5 separate regions of the Homo sapiens genome follow, and all the other regions are linked to region 1. The links are contacts of gene promoters, found by promoter capture Hi-C in blood cells and fetal thymus (Javierre and others, 2016). All regions are on one chromosome and are shown on one strand. The core of a region is centred on a gene start or on the middle of the fragment in contact, and the rest is flanking DNA. Distances in the headings are between cores, read along the strand shown. Region 1 holds the start of PMPCB (peptidase, mitochondrial processing subunit beta). Region 2 overlaps ARMC10 (armadillo repeat containing 10). Region 3 overlaps NAPEPLD (N-acyl phosphatidylethanolamine phospholipase D). Region 4 overlaps NAPEPLD (N-acyl phosphatidylethanolamine phospholipase D). Region 5 overlaps LOC105375434.

Region 1 (2,571 bases), core at 31-2,530:
ACTTACTGTGCATGTTGAGAGCCCAGAGTCTTCCGAAGCTACTCTGAGTCCACTTTCTAAACATGTTACTCTTGTTTCAGGAACATTCAGAACAACTTGGGTAGCAGCCTGTGTACTTCTTAATCTGTTCTCTCCAAAATATAATGACTGGTTGGGGGTAGGAAGTGGAAGAGACAAAGCAAAACACATTACTAATCTGATATTAAATGTTGCTTTTAAAACCAAATCTATTTTAAATAGGCTGTCTCTATAAAAGAATCTTTCTTCTTGAATTTTGGTTCCACTGAGATCTCTGCCTGGCCTAGAAACATCTGTCACCAGCCACTGTCCTAAAGCCAGCAACGTGTTTATAAACATGCCCTTCCCTCAGGGAAGATGAGCAATTATTATCATTACCCAGAGAGAAATTGACTTTATTTCACTACCTCTCCTAGAAATGTTTTATATTCATTATGGAGAAAACAAGCAGGAAAAAAAAAAAGAGAGGGAAACTATGTAAAACTACCTACACACAAGACAAAACTGACACTCGGGTTTTCATTGTTCAAGAAAAGCAACAGGGTTTGGAAATGGTTAAAAAAAAAAAGAGAGAGAGGATAGGAAGATGGGTCGATGTTCAAAATGCAAATGACTGGCTTTTCGGCCAGAAACTATTCGCCTTTCAGCAGTTTTTCTTTGCCCTTATACAAAAGTCTCACATCCCTTTGCTTAAAGTCAGAGGCTCTCTCATGAGAAAAATGCAAATACATAAAAAATTTTACTTCATTGATGTCCAGGTTCGCGGGAAGCCCAGCTGAGGACGAAGTTCAGTCTTAGGCAAAAATAGAACTCTGGAGCGGTACCCATTTCACTTTTTAGTTTTCCCCAATTTGCAAGCACTACGTTTTTAGTGGTCAAACATGCACTCCTCAGTAGCTGGCGGGAGGAGCCGAAAACCAGGGTCATCCCACACGTCACTAGCAGGTCTCCTGGCGGGTGGCCACAAGCCAGTCACCCCCGGCCAGTTCAGCAGCCCCAGGCCGCCTGGCGCCCGGCGGGTCCGGGTCGAGGAGGCCCTGCCCGACCCACTGTTCGGATCTGTGGCGCCGACTCTCAGGTGCGCTGCGCCGGGTCTGGCGAGATCTCGAGGACAGGACCGGCCTGGAGGGAAGCTCACCCGTCCCGCAGCGCCTCGGATTAGAAGACTCTCGCTGAAACCCCAGAGCCGCCGCCGCGCCGCGGATGACAACACCACTCGAGCCGCCGCAGCCGCCATTTCTGCTAGAAGGAAGGTAGAGGATGAAGGATGTGCTTCCGGGGTCGCGACCTGAGGTCCCAGAGCAGGGAGGTGGGCTCCACCTTGTGGCCGTGATGGGAATGACACTCCTCGAAGCGGTTGTGAAAGCAATCAGGGCCCGACCATGATGCTGAGCGGTCTTTACCAAATGAATTGGGGAGTCTGCAGAAGCCCCTTTATCATCAGTTATTTTATCGATCGCCTACTAAGTGCAAGGCACAAATGCGGTGGAATGAAAGGTAACCTGATGCAATATATCTCACTGGTGGATGGAATTGATTGAAAACAGTGGAATAATATTCATAAGTCACTGCCTTTAAAGGAAAAGTCTAGTGGGAGAGACAGATGCCGTGAGGGGAGGAAACGATGTATCCGTGTTGACCACTATCCACTCTTCGAACCTCTACAATATGGCTCATCTCATTCCATAGAAATTGCCCTTGGTAAGGTCACTAATTGCTAAAAGTTGGACACTTTACAGACTTATGTTACAGTCCTGTTGGAGGATTTGACATTGTTGGCTTCTTTGAAATTCTCTTTTCTCAATATATTCTAGAGCTCCACCTCCTCATAGTTCCCTCTGCACCTTCTTGGACTCCTCTTTATTCACAGATCTGTTTTTTGTTTTTGTTTTTGTTTTTGAGATGGAGTTTCACTCTTGTTGCCCAGGCTGGAGTGCAGTGGTGCAATCTCAGCTCACTGCAACCTCTGCCTCCTGGGTTCAAGCAATTCTCCTGCCTCAGCCTCCCAGGTAGCTGGGATTACAGGCATGTGCCACCACGCCTGGCTACTTTGTATTTTTAGTAGAGATGGGGTTTCACCATATTGGTCAGGCTGGTTTTGAACTCCTAACCTCAGGTAATCCACCCACCTCCACCTCCCAAAGTGCTAGGATTACAGGCGTGAGCCACTGCGCCCAGCCCACAGATCTCTCAAGGAACTAAAAATTGCAAATGCTTTTCTAACTCAGGTAGATGGTATAGTGCTTATTTTGCAATTAAGACACTGAAGTCAAATAACTTGCCCCAGGTTACCCTGCTAGTAATAGGTTAACGCCAAAGACTGTGCTGTGAAACACTACATTTTGCCCTAAAAGTTGGTGTTTGCCAGGACTCTAAGCCTCTTCTACTGAACATTCTCCCTCTGGGTTTTTCCCTCCACTTCAAGACCTGTCTGCCCAACCCAGGCCTTTCTCTTGAGCTCCAGCCCACTTAACCATCAACTACTAGGAAACTACACTTGAATACCCCATTGGAAACTCAATATCAACTTGTCCAAAAGGGAATTCACTGTGT
Region 2 (2,571 bases), core at 45-2,544, 200 kb after region 1:
TTAGTTACATATGTATACTTGTGCCATGCTGGTGCACTGCACCCACTAACTCGTCATCTAGCATTAGGTATATCTCCCAATGCTATCCCTCCCCCCTCCCCCCACCCCACAACAGTCCCCAGAGTGTGATGTTCCCCTTCCTGTGTCCATGTGTTCTCATTGTTCAATTCCCACCTATGAGTGAGAATATACAGTGTTTGGTTTTTTGTTCTTGCGATAGTTTACTGAGAATGATGATTTCCAATTTTGTCCATGTCCCTACAAAGGACATGAACTCATCATTTTTTATGGCTGCATAGTATTCCATGGTGTATATGTGCCACATTTTCTTAATCCAGTCTATCATTGTTGGACATTCGGGTTGGTTCCAAGTCTTTTAAAAACAAAGGCCATGTGAAACCATACTTTCTACAAGATACCTGGAACTAAAATAAGCATAGAGGGGGGTACTAACTCAGGGAAATGGGACAAATGTGCTCTTCACTAGAGCTGGGAAGGAACCTGGATATTATTTTAGAAAAATTTTTTATTACAAAGGCAACAGATGTTTACCATAGCACTTTCAAAAAAATAGAAAACCACAAAGAAAAAGAAAATTTACCCGTATTTACATAACCAGAAATGATCACGATTAAGTGTTGGTATTTTTGGCCAGGTGCGGTGGCGCATGCCTGCATTCCCAGCACTTTGGGAGGCCAAGGTGGGCAGATCACTTGAGCTCAGGAGTTCAAGAGCAACATGGGCAACATGGCAAAACCCCGTCTCTACCAAAAATACAAAAATCAGCCAGGCGTGGTGGCATGTGACCAAAGTCCCAGGGAGGCTGAGGTAGGAGGATTGTTTGAGCCTGGAAGCTCAAGGCTGCAGTGAGCAGAGATCATGCCACTGCAATCTAGCCTGGGCAACAGAGTGAGATTCTGTGTCAAAAAAGAGAAAGAAAAGTTTTAGTATTTTCTTTTTGGTCTTTTATGCAAATATCCTGTATAGTCACAATTTCTTTGATCATGTTGTAGATACTAATTTATTTGAGGATGACATAATACTTTGCTTAATTTTACTGTTTTTATCAAATATTTCTTTATTTTTAGAAAATTACTACTTGGTCATGATAAAAATTTTAAGTAATGCAAAAGAGAACAAGGTAAAAACAAAAGCCACCATGCTTTTGGCCCCTTCCAATCCTCAGCAGTGTCCACTGGTAACATTTCTTGAATATGCAGAGATTGTCTTTTTCAAAGAGATGCTATTAATAAATTAAGGCCTCTGGGGTTGAAAGAGTAAAGGAGACTTCTGACCCTTCTTTAGTGCACTCCGTGGAGGTCACTATCAGATCTCATCTGGCCTGACTGACTATCAGCAACACTAGGAATAAGTGTTAGGAAAAAAACACCTGGCTCCAATGTCAATGAAGTTTCAATTAGAAAAATAGGAACAGGAGGTATGAAATAGGATGGTCCTGAACTTACGAAATAAGCCTGGATGAAGTCAAAATCTAAGACCCACTAATAGTCAATGAGGGCAGGTATACAACCAGGGAATAGCAACAGCAATAGCTATTTGGTATCCTGTATTAAAATCTGATGTTGCTATTCTTTGTAGAAGGGAGTTAAATATGAGAAAAAAATATATATACAGTTAGAGTACAACTACAGATTAAACAAATATATGGATTTTGGTTTGAAACCATATTAAGACATGTTTTTTTTCCTCGTCACATGCACCATCTTGTGGTGACACTAGGACATTTTAAACCATTAGTTTTGTTTTCATTGAGGATGTAACAAGCACACAGTTTATGTTAATCCTCCACTATCTGCATTAAGTTATCAATCAGTGGTGTACCCAAACGGTTATTACAGTACAGTGAGATCCCTGACTTAAGCAAAATACGATATTTAAACATTCATTTTAGTGGTTATTTACTAAGAAAATACCTAAATCAGACACACTTTCCCACTAACAAATGGATGGCTATCCAAAAGTTCATTTGCAAGTTGGAACTTTAAACTCAATTTTTATGGAAAATCAATGTTGTAATTGGTAGGTATGTTCCAAGGCAGACCAAGAAAGCAAATTTTCTATCCTAGAAATACTGTACTAAGCAATGTAATGGAAAAACACAACACAACAAAACAAAAATAGAACATACTATTGTGGTCTGGGTCATCTTTTAAAAAGTCAAAAAATATATGAAAACACAGACGATGTCTGAGACAGATATATACAGCCCCAAGGCCAGACTTGCCTGGCTGAACTCAGCCTGGCTCTGGACTCAGAGTTCCTCCTGAGGTTCTGGGTAAAGCAGCTGCAGAGTCAGGCAGAGGAGAGATTTCTCCTACAGTGGCAACAACATACAGTAAAGAGGGAAGGAGTTTCCCCAGGGGTTCAGGGGCTGGAAGTTATCTTGTTCCACTGGAGACAGACATGCTGATGCACGTTGGAAACTGCCTGGGAATGGTGCAATATTGCTAGAAGACTACTCTTACATTTAATTTTCAATACCTTTTGGTACATCTTGGATCACATCCAAACAAGTTTGGCTATTGGAAAAGAGGAAAGTCCATGTACAAA
Region 3 (2,571 bases), core at 24-2,523, 180 kb after region 1:
TAAGTGAGTGTAAATACAGTTACCAACCCCTCATATGTTGCCAACTCTGAGTGCACTTACTGCCTATAACTTAGCACTGCTCCTCAAGGAGCAGTATCGTTTAAAAAAAATTGCTGGCCAGCACCACTGGCTTGCCGTTGAATTATATTTCGTTTGTGAGGCCAAAAACCCTCCTGGGCTAAGCCTCAATTTTGGGGCTCGCCTCCCCTGCATCATCAGTAAGTTGTATCTTCAGATAGATCCAGTAAAATCAAAATATACGTGAAACAAAAATCTCACTATTCAGAGGGGAGTTTGCTTGAGACTTACTTATTTTATAGCAATTTGTACAAGAAAGACTTTTGCTTGTTTTATTTTTCAGCAGAAAGTGTACCAAAGGGAGATGGTTTTGCCTCCTGTGACTTAATTCCTGTGCAGAATTTGTTTTGTTTTTACAATCTAGCCTTGACCTGGCCTTCAGACTTGGTTTCTAGCTCATCCTCCCCAAAACTGCATGTTTTATCCCAGTGGTTCTTAATTCTCAACATCCATAGTCCTGCGCAGAATCTTAAAGTTTGGTTAAGTGAAACAGATTTTAGAATTTAGTGTATATCTCAAAGGTCAGAATTAAGAAATTGCCATGTTTCTTCAGGTGGTTTATGAAATACCAGCATGTAGACCCAGAAGAAGCTGTAAGGATTCACACTGATGTCCAAACAAAGAAATCTATGGCAATTCACTGGGGAACTTTTGCCTTAGCAAATGAGGTAAGTTTGATTGCGATAAAAATAACTTTGTGTGTTTGACCAATGATAGGATTCAGGCATCACTGTTCCTTAGTTTTCAGACCCAAGACTCTGGAATCAGATACTGCACAGTCATCACAGTCACTGCATGAATTAGGGTGGTAAATCATACTAATTAGTAGAACAATACACACATATACAGTCAGAAAAAAAAAACAACACAACCTCATTGTGTTTTCTTTTGGCTTATTTCTGAAGTTAGTAAAGCTTGTATTTGTATAACCAAAAATCTGTATGTGGTCTGGAGACTAGAAAAGCAAGCCATCATGTCTCACCCCTCAAGCAGGCTCTCATGCTAGCAGAAGACAGAAGTCATGTATGTGATACAGATGTTAGAAGGGGAAAGTGCTGTAATGTGGAACAGATGAGATGGTCTCAGAATCAGGATGTTTGCTGATGGCAGGGATCAGAGAGGGCGTGATGGAATAAGTGACATTTGAACTTGGCTCTGAGAGGGCAGGGAGGAAGGCATTTTCAGAGGAGGAAAGGGCAGAGCATAGGCTCGGAGGCAGCTAGTGTGGGGAGTACTTGAATCAGTTCAGCAGGAGAGTGGAGGGCAATAGGGAGAAGTAAGGCTAGTGTGGAACTTTCTAGAAATATATTCAGTAAACATTGACTCGGTGTCTGCTATGTGCCAGGCATAGGGATAAATGTGATTTTATTCCTAGATTAAAACAGAAGAGATAATTTTTCCTTAAGGCAGATGGACCCTAGAACTCTGCCACTAGCCTGGGTCCTGGGATCAAGCAGAGGATAGTATAAAGCTTTCTCTCCTTTCCTGGATCCAAGGTCTTCTCTAAACAAAACTTAGAAATGTATGGTTAGGCCCAGTGCAGTGGCTCACACCTGTAATCCCAGCACTTTGGGAGGCTGAGGCAGGTGGATCACTTGAGGTCAGGAGTTCGAGACCAGCCTGGCCAACATGGCGAAACCCCGTCTCTACTAAAAATACAAAATAGCCAGGCGTGGTGGTGCGTGCCTGTAATCCCAGCTACTCGGGAGGCTGAGGCAGGAGAATCGCCTGAACCCAGGAAGTAGAGGTTGCAGTAAGTCGAGATTGTGCCACTATACTCCAGCCTGGGCAAAAGAGTGAGATTTGGCTGGGCACCTGTGGCTCACACCTGTAATCCCAGCACTTTGGGAGTCTGAGGCGGGTGGATCACCTGAGGTCAGGAGTTCGAGACCAGCCTGGCCAACATGATGAAAACCCATCTCTAATAAAATTAGCTGGGCGTGGTGGCAGGCGCCTATAATTCCAGCTACTCGGGAGCCTGAGGCAGGAGAATAACTTGAACCTGGGAGACAGAGGTTGCAGTGAGCCGAGATTACGGCACTTCCTTCCAGCCTGGGTGAAAGAGCGAAACTCTGTCTTGAGAAAAAAAAAAAAAAAAAAAGTGAGACTCTGTCTTAAAAAAAAAAGTGAGACTCTGTCTTTAAAAAAAAAAAAAGTGTGGTTAGGACTTGGCTTCTTTACTTTCTGTGGCATCTTCCACATCCCAGAGCCTCTCTGCAGGAACTCAGTGTTTTCTTGCAGTTTTAGTTACTCCTCTGTCTCACTTATGGCCTGCCCTCTCCCAAAGATGCAGTGTGTTCCAAAATTACCTAATACACTGCCTGCCCATTCCCCCACTCCCTAATCAAAATTCCTGTGCCATGAGGCAGCAACCCTGAGCCACAATGCAGCAATTCTTGGCCACTGTTGGGAGAAGGAATAGAATAATGACTAACCATAGGGTTGTGGGGAGGATAAATGAGAATATAAATGTGGGTGTGTGGGTGCGTATTT
Region 4 (2,571 bases), core at 31-2,530, 160 kb after region 1:
CCTGAGTAGCTGGGACTACAGGCATACACCACCATGCCTAGCTAATTTTTGTATTTTTAGTAGAGATGGGGTTTCACCATGTTGGCCAGGCTGGTCTCGAACTCCCGACCTGAGGTGATCCACCTGCCTCGGCCTGCCAAAGTGCTGGGATTACAGGCATGAGCCACTGTGCCTGGCTAGAACATTTGTATTTTATATTTAAAATACAATTGTCACAGGGGTTTGTTACCTTTAAATTTTCTTCTGGATTCTAGTTTTCTAGAACAAATTTAGCATTTGGTATGTTTATAACTAACTGTTGTTCACAGAGGGAAAGAGGATGAGCAATTAATTATGCTTCTGATTATATTTAATTATCAAGAGCAATGTTTTCACTCCTGTCCCAACGTATTTATTTTCCAACACAAAATGCTATATTTCATCCATTTTGAGATAGACATTTTATTCACATTTTAACACCACTGATATCACTATATGTCATGTATAACGTGTGACCTAACTATAATTGATAACATTTTTACTTCCTTAGTGGCACATGACACATCAGGGTGCCTTACAATTCATGGTATTTTTATTTATTTATTACTTATTTGTTTAGATTGCTCTTTCAGAATTCATGGATCTTAAATTGAATCAAAATCAGTACAATGGAAAGATCTTTATCAAGTTTTAAAGCACTTTTTGAAACACAGGTTGTTTACAGTTTTTGTGTATTCATGTACACATCTACTTTCAGTTGGTGTTGGCCTGAAATCAAGGGTGGATTATTTTCATTTACATTGTTAATTTTGGAAACAGTTACATAACAAGAAATAGTTTGAAATTTGCCACATTTAATTACAGAAACTCTAGCTAGATATGTTAAGGGGTTTGTCAAGCTTGAAGAGCTCAAAGCTAGTTAACACAGGACCATACAGACAACCCACTCTTCCTCATTCCTACTTTTTCTGTCATTTTATCTGTGGTCTTCTGAGTGCCCAGAAGACACTGGGCATGAGGAGCGTTCTTGTGTGACCCACTCTCGGGCTGAGGCTCCTTTGTCACTGGAGCACCTGTTGGCAGAGCGTGTCATTTTGCACATTCAGCAAATGGGCTCCCAGTATTTTTCCTCCAGAAAAACCAGTCCAGAGTTTCAAGGCTCAGGTTTTACGTGCTTCTGCTCCTTCTTGCCCTTTCAACAGTGCATCGTGTGAAATGGTGTTTCATAGTTTGATCATTTTGTGTTGCTTTAACATCTGTCATGGATGGCAGTCCATAATCCTGTGACTATACATTTCCCCATACCCCAAGGATATGACAACGTGGCAGTTGGTCGCCCTGAAGTGGGTACATGATACATCTGAGGAAATAGTTTCAGGCCGTGTTTATGGAGCAGAGGAGAGTGTGGAGAGTGTGGGTAAGGTTAGAAACACAGACCCTGTGAACCATCATGCTGACCTTTGCCCTCAAAAAACCCTTTGGAGGTTTTTTCGTTTTGTTTGTATCAGATTTTTTTGTTTTTTGTTTTTTAAAGAGCATTTCTGAAAACTGGACTTTGTGTGTGTTAGGGGAGGGGGTTTGTTAGGAGAGGATGGCTATTTGGTAATGAGACCTGTTTCCACAGATTGATTGGGGTGAAAGACTGAGTGGATGGGAGGTGAGGAAATGGAGATTGTGTGAATAGACAACTTTGAAAAAGCTTATTATTTAGAGAGAAGAAAGATCACTGCACCAATTTTTTCTTTTCTCTTCTTTTTGTTTCTTTTCTTTCTTTCTTTCTTTGAGACGGAGTCTCGCTCTGTCGCCCAGGCTGGAGTGCAGTGGCATGATAACAGCTCACTGCAGCCTCAACTTCCTGGGCTCAAGGGATCCTCCCAGTAGCTGGGACTACAGGCCTGCAACACCACAGTGGGCTAATTTATTTATTTTTATTTTTATTTTTTATTTTATTTATTTATTTATTTTTACCCCTAAAGCAGCCTGAATCCATTTCCTTTGGGTGTCAATGAGGACTTTCTCTTGGGTTCTTGCTTTCCCATGACCTCAAACCCTTCTCAAACTCACTGGGTCACAATCCACCTTGATTAGTGGTGCTGCCATTTCTGACTCTTCCCACTCTCCTCCTGACCAACCAGCCCTACAAAGTCCAAAATTTGTGACTATCCAAATACTCTCAAGTCTTACTGATTCATCTTCTTTGTTGTCTCTTGGATTTATTCTGCTTTTTCTCTTCTCATTGCACTGCCTCCTCATCTTTTGACTGGGTTGCTATTCACTATTAAAAAGTGGGGATTATAATACCTACCTTGAGGGTTTGCTAGGAGCATGAGTTTAAATGAAATAGGTGAAATATGTGGCATGGTGGTTCAGTGTTATTGGGTGTTCTAGGCTTCTTCTGTTTTCATTCAATCCATCTCCCAAGCTCCAGTTTTTAGCCACTTCCTTTCTTTTTAATCCTGCTATCAGAGTTGTCTTCCCTAAGTACATCATTTTCTTTTTAGACGGAGTCTCCGCAACCTCCGCCTCCTGGGTTCAAGCAATTCTCCTGCCTCAGGCTCCCAAGTTGCTGTGACTGCAGGCACGCGCCACCAC
Region 5 (2,571 bases), core at 44-2,543, 150 kb after region 1:
TCGGAACAAAACAGGATAGGGATTTTCACAGTGCTTTTCTATACAATGTCTGCAATCTGTAGATAATATAACCAATTACGTCAGGGGTCGATCTTTAACTACCAGGCCCAGGGTGTGGTGCCTGGCTGTCTGCTTGTGGATTTCATTTCTGCCTTTTAGTTTTTACTTTTTCTTTCTTTGGAGGCAGAAACTGGGCATAAGACAATATGAGGGGTGGTCTCCTCCCTTAAGAAGAGCGTCCCCAGGAGAAACAAGCTTGACCACTATGCTGTCACAGAGTTTCCTCTGACCACTGAGTCTGCCATGAAGAAGATAGAAGACAACAACACACTTGTGTTCACTGTGGATGTTAAAGCCACCAAGCACCAGATCAAACAGGCTGTGAAGAAGCTCTATGACACTGATGTGGCCAAAGTCCATGCCCTGATTAGGCCTGATGCAGGAAGAAGGCATAAGCTCCACTGGCTCCTGATTACAATGCTTTGGATATTGCCAACAAAATTGGGATCAACTTTGTTGCTGACCCAACAAAACTGGGATATTGCCAACAAAATTGGGGTCATCTAAACTGAGTCCAGCTGGCTAATTATAAATACATGTATCTTTTCACCAGGTTCATGCCTCTTTGTCAACTTCTGGTTGGGCTGGGGAGGCCATTCAAGGTACTGAGGTTGTAATAGGGCCTGGGCAAGACTCCTGTTCTACTTATCCTTTTGGAACACTCACTCTGCCACTCCACCATACTTGATCACTCCAGAGATCTTTATGACCAGAGCTAGTTGTCCTAAGAAAACCAGAACTTGTCTCCATGGTAGAGGTAAGAAAACAAGAAGCTGCCGGGTGGCGGTGGCTCAAGCCTATCACTTTGGGAGGCCCAGGCGGGCAAATCACTTGAGGCCAGGAGTTCGAGATCAGCCTGGCCAACATGGTGAAACCCCATGTCCACTAAAAAGACAAAAATTAGCCGGGCATGGTGGTGGGCACCTGTAGTCCCAGCTACTCAGGAGGCTGAGGCAGGAGAATCTGGGAGGCAGAGGTTGCAGCGAGCCAAGATCTGGCCACTGCACTTCAGCCTGGGTGACAGAACGAGACTCCGTCTCAAAAAAAAAAGAAAAAAGAAGAGGCTTTACAAGAACCCCTTCTTTTATCCCTGGAAGAGGCTGTGTGTGAAACCAATGCCCACAGTTTGAAGGGCATTAGCATTCATCTTAGGGGAGTGTGGGTTGGCTGGCTTTCAGGTAGCACTTTGACCTCACACACCCATCTACTATGTCCAACTGGTCTGTCTGCTTCCCTCAGCCTTAACCAATAAAGGACAAGGACTTAAAAAAAAAGAGTGGGAGTGAGGGGAACAAAGGGCATCTTTTTTTTTTTTTTTTTTTTGAGACAGAGTCTTGCTCTGTCTACCAGGCTGGAGTGCAGTGGTGCCATCTTTGCTCACTGCAACCTCCATCTCTGGGGTTCAAGCAGTTCTACTGCCTCAGCCTCCCTAGTAGCTGGGATTACAGGTGAGCTCCACTATGCCTAGCTAGTTTTTGTATTTTTACTTGAGACAGGGTTTCGCCATGTTGGCCAGGCTGGTCTCGAACTCCTGACCTCAGGTGATCCTCCTGCCTTGGCCTCCCAAAGTGCTGGAATTACAGGCGTGAGCCACTGCGCCCAGCTTTTTTTTTTTTTTTGGGGAAATGGGGTCTTCTCTGTTGCCCAGGCTGGAGTGTAGTGGCGTGATCACAGCTCACTGCGGCCTTGATCTCCCAGGCTCAATCGATCCTCCCACCTCAGCCTCTGGAGTAGCTGGGACCACAAGGGCGGGCCATCAAGGCTGGCTACTTTTTTTTTTTTTTAATTATTATTTGTAGAGATGAAGTCTCGCTATGTTGCCCAAGTTGGTCTCCAACTCCTGGGCTCTAAGGATTCTCCTGCCTTGCCCTCCCAAAGTGCCGGGATTACTTCTCCGTTGCTTAGTCAAGAACACTATGAAGAACTTTTGAGTAGTAACTTCAACTTACCCTTTGGGTTTGTATGTATGCTGTTACTTTTTTTTTTTTCTTCTGTTGCACAAAGGTATTATTCACCTTATGCAGTTTCAGCTCCACCCAGGTGCAAGCAGCTCTTAATCACCCTTAAGTTCAGCAGCCACTCTAAGCTAGCCTGAGGAGATAAAGTCCACACTTGACATACAGTTCTTTACATTCCTCCAATGTCACACAGGCACATTCACTTTCAAAATGCAGAATAGTTTGGTCTGCATTTTTCTGCCAGTCTTATCTGCATTTAGAACCTGTGGTGGTGGTTTCTTTTTTGCCAAGATAACCCCAGGGACAAGCTTTTTTTTTTTTTTTTGACCCTGGCACACCCCAGGACTTTTATAATCTTTTTGCCCAACAACCCATTGTTGAATTTTACTTCGACATGCCTGTACTTTACTTCTTGAAACAACTAATTTCATTCTGCAGTTTAAAAAGCAAATCCAGTAAGAAACTCAGAATCACAATCGTATGCTCTTTCATAGTTATCCTAGCGTTAAAAAAGATGCAAATTTAGATGAGAACCGTGTGTACCAGGGGGCTG

The links. Contacts are between HindIII fragments. The CHiCAGO score rates a contact against its expected background, and 5 or more counts as called.
Region 2: a fragment that was not itself captured here is called in contact with the fragment with the promoter of PMPCB in region 1 in 1 of 17 cell types (erythroblasts); the score reaches 7.0 in erythroblasts.
Region 3: a fragment that was not itself captured here is called in contact with the fragment with the promoter of PMPCB in region 1 in 1 of 17 cell types (erythroblasts); the score reaches 5.1 in erythroblasts.
Region 4: a contact is called between a fragment that was not itself captured here and the fragment with the promoter of PMPCB in region 1, in 1 of 17 cell types (erythroblasts). The highest score is 5.1, in erythroblasts.
Region 5: a contact is called between a fragment that was not itself captured here and the fragment with the promoter of PMPCB in region 1, in 1 of 17 cell types (erythroblasts). The highest score is 5.9, in erythroblasts.

What each region holds. Positions count from the first base shown.
Region 1 is chr7:103,296,144-103,298,714 of GRCh38, reverse strand. It overlaps PMPCB (peptidase, mitochondrial processing subunit beta), which reads right to left and starts at 1,280. Exons shown (of 13, transcript NM_004279.3): 1 at 1,157-1,280; 2 at 7-147. The coding sequence starts at 1,255. RefSeq lists enhancers at 1,026-1,325, 1,426-1,485. The HindIII fragment of the contact is 11,349 bases long and covers 1-2,571 here.
Region 2 is chr7:103,093,472-103,096,042 of GRCh38, reverse strand. The region is part of intron 5 of ARMC10 (armadillo repeat containing 10); the gene reads right to left. Among named protein-coding and RNA genes, the nearest start is that of ARMC10, 20 kb to the right of the region's middle. The HindIII fragment of the contact is 4,149 bases long and covers 1-2,571 here.
Region 3 is chr7:103,113,235-103,115,805 of GRCh38, reverse strand. It overlaps NAPEPLD (N-acyl phosphatidylethanolamine phospholipase D), which reads left to right. Exons shown (of 5, transcript NM_001122838.3): 4 at 632-746. Among named protein-coding and RNA genes, the nearest start is that of NAPEPLD, 35 kb to the left of the region's middle. The HindIII fragment of the contact is 557 bases long and covers 995-1,551 here.
Region 4 is chr7:103,131,975-103,134,545 of GRCh38, reverse strand. The region is part of intron 1 of NAPEPLD (N-acyl phosphatidylethanolamine phospholipase D); the gene reads left to right. Among named protein-coding and RNA genes, the nearest start is that of NAPEPLD, 16 kb to the left of the region's middle. The HindIII fragment of the contact is 800 bases long and covers 881-1,680 here.
Region 5 is chr7:103,150,003-103,152,573 of GRCh38, reverse strand. LOC105375434 reads right to left here. Exons shown (of 3, transcript XM_047421168.1): 2 at 2,010-2,571. It also overlaps the pseudogene RPL23AP95. Among named protein-coding and RNA genes, the nearest start is that of NAPEPLD, 2.2 kb to the right of the region's middle. The HindIII fragment of the contact is 2,071 bases long and covers 258-2,328 here.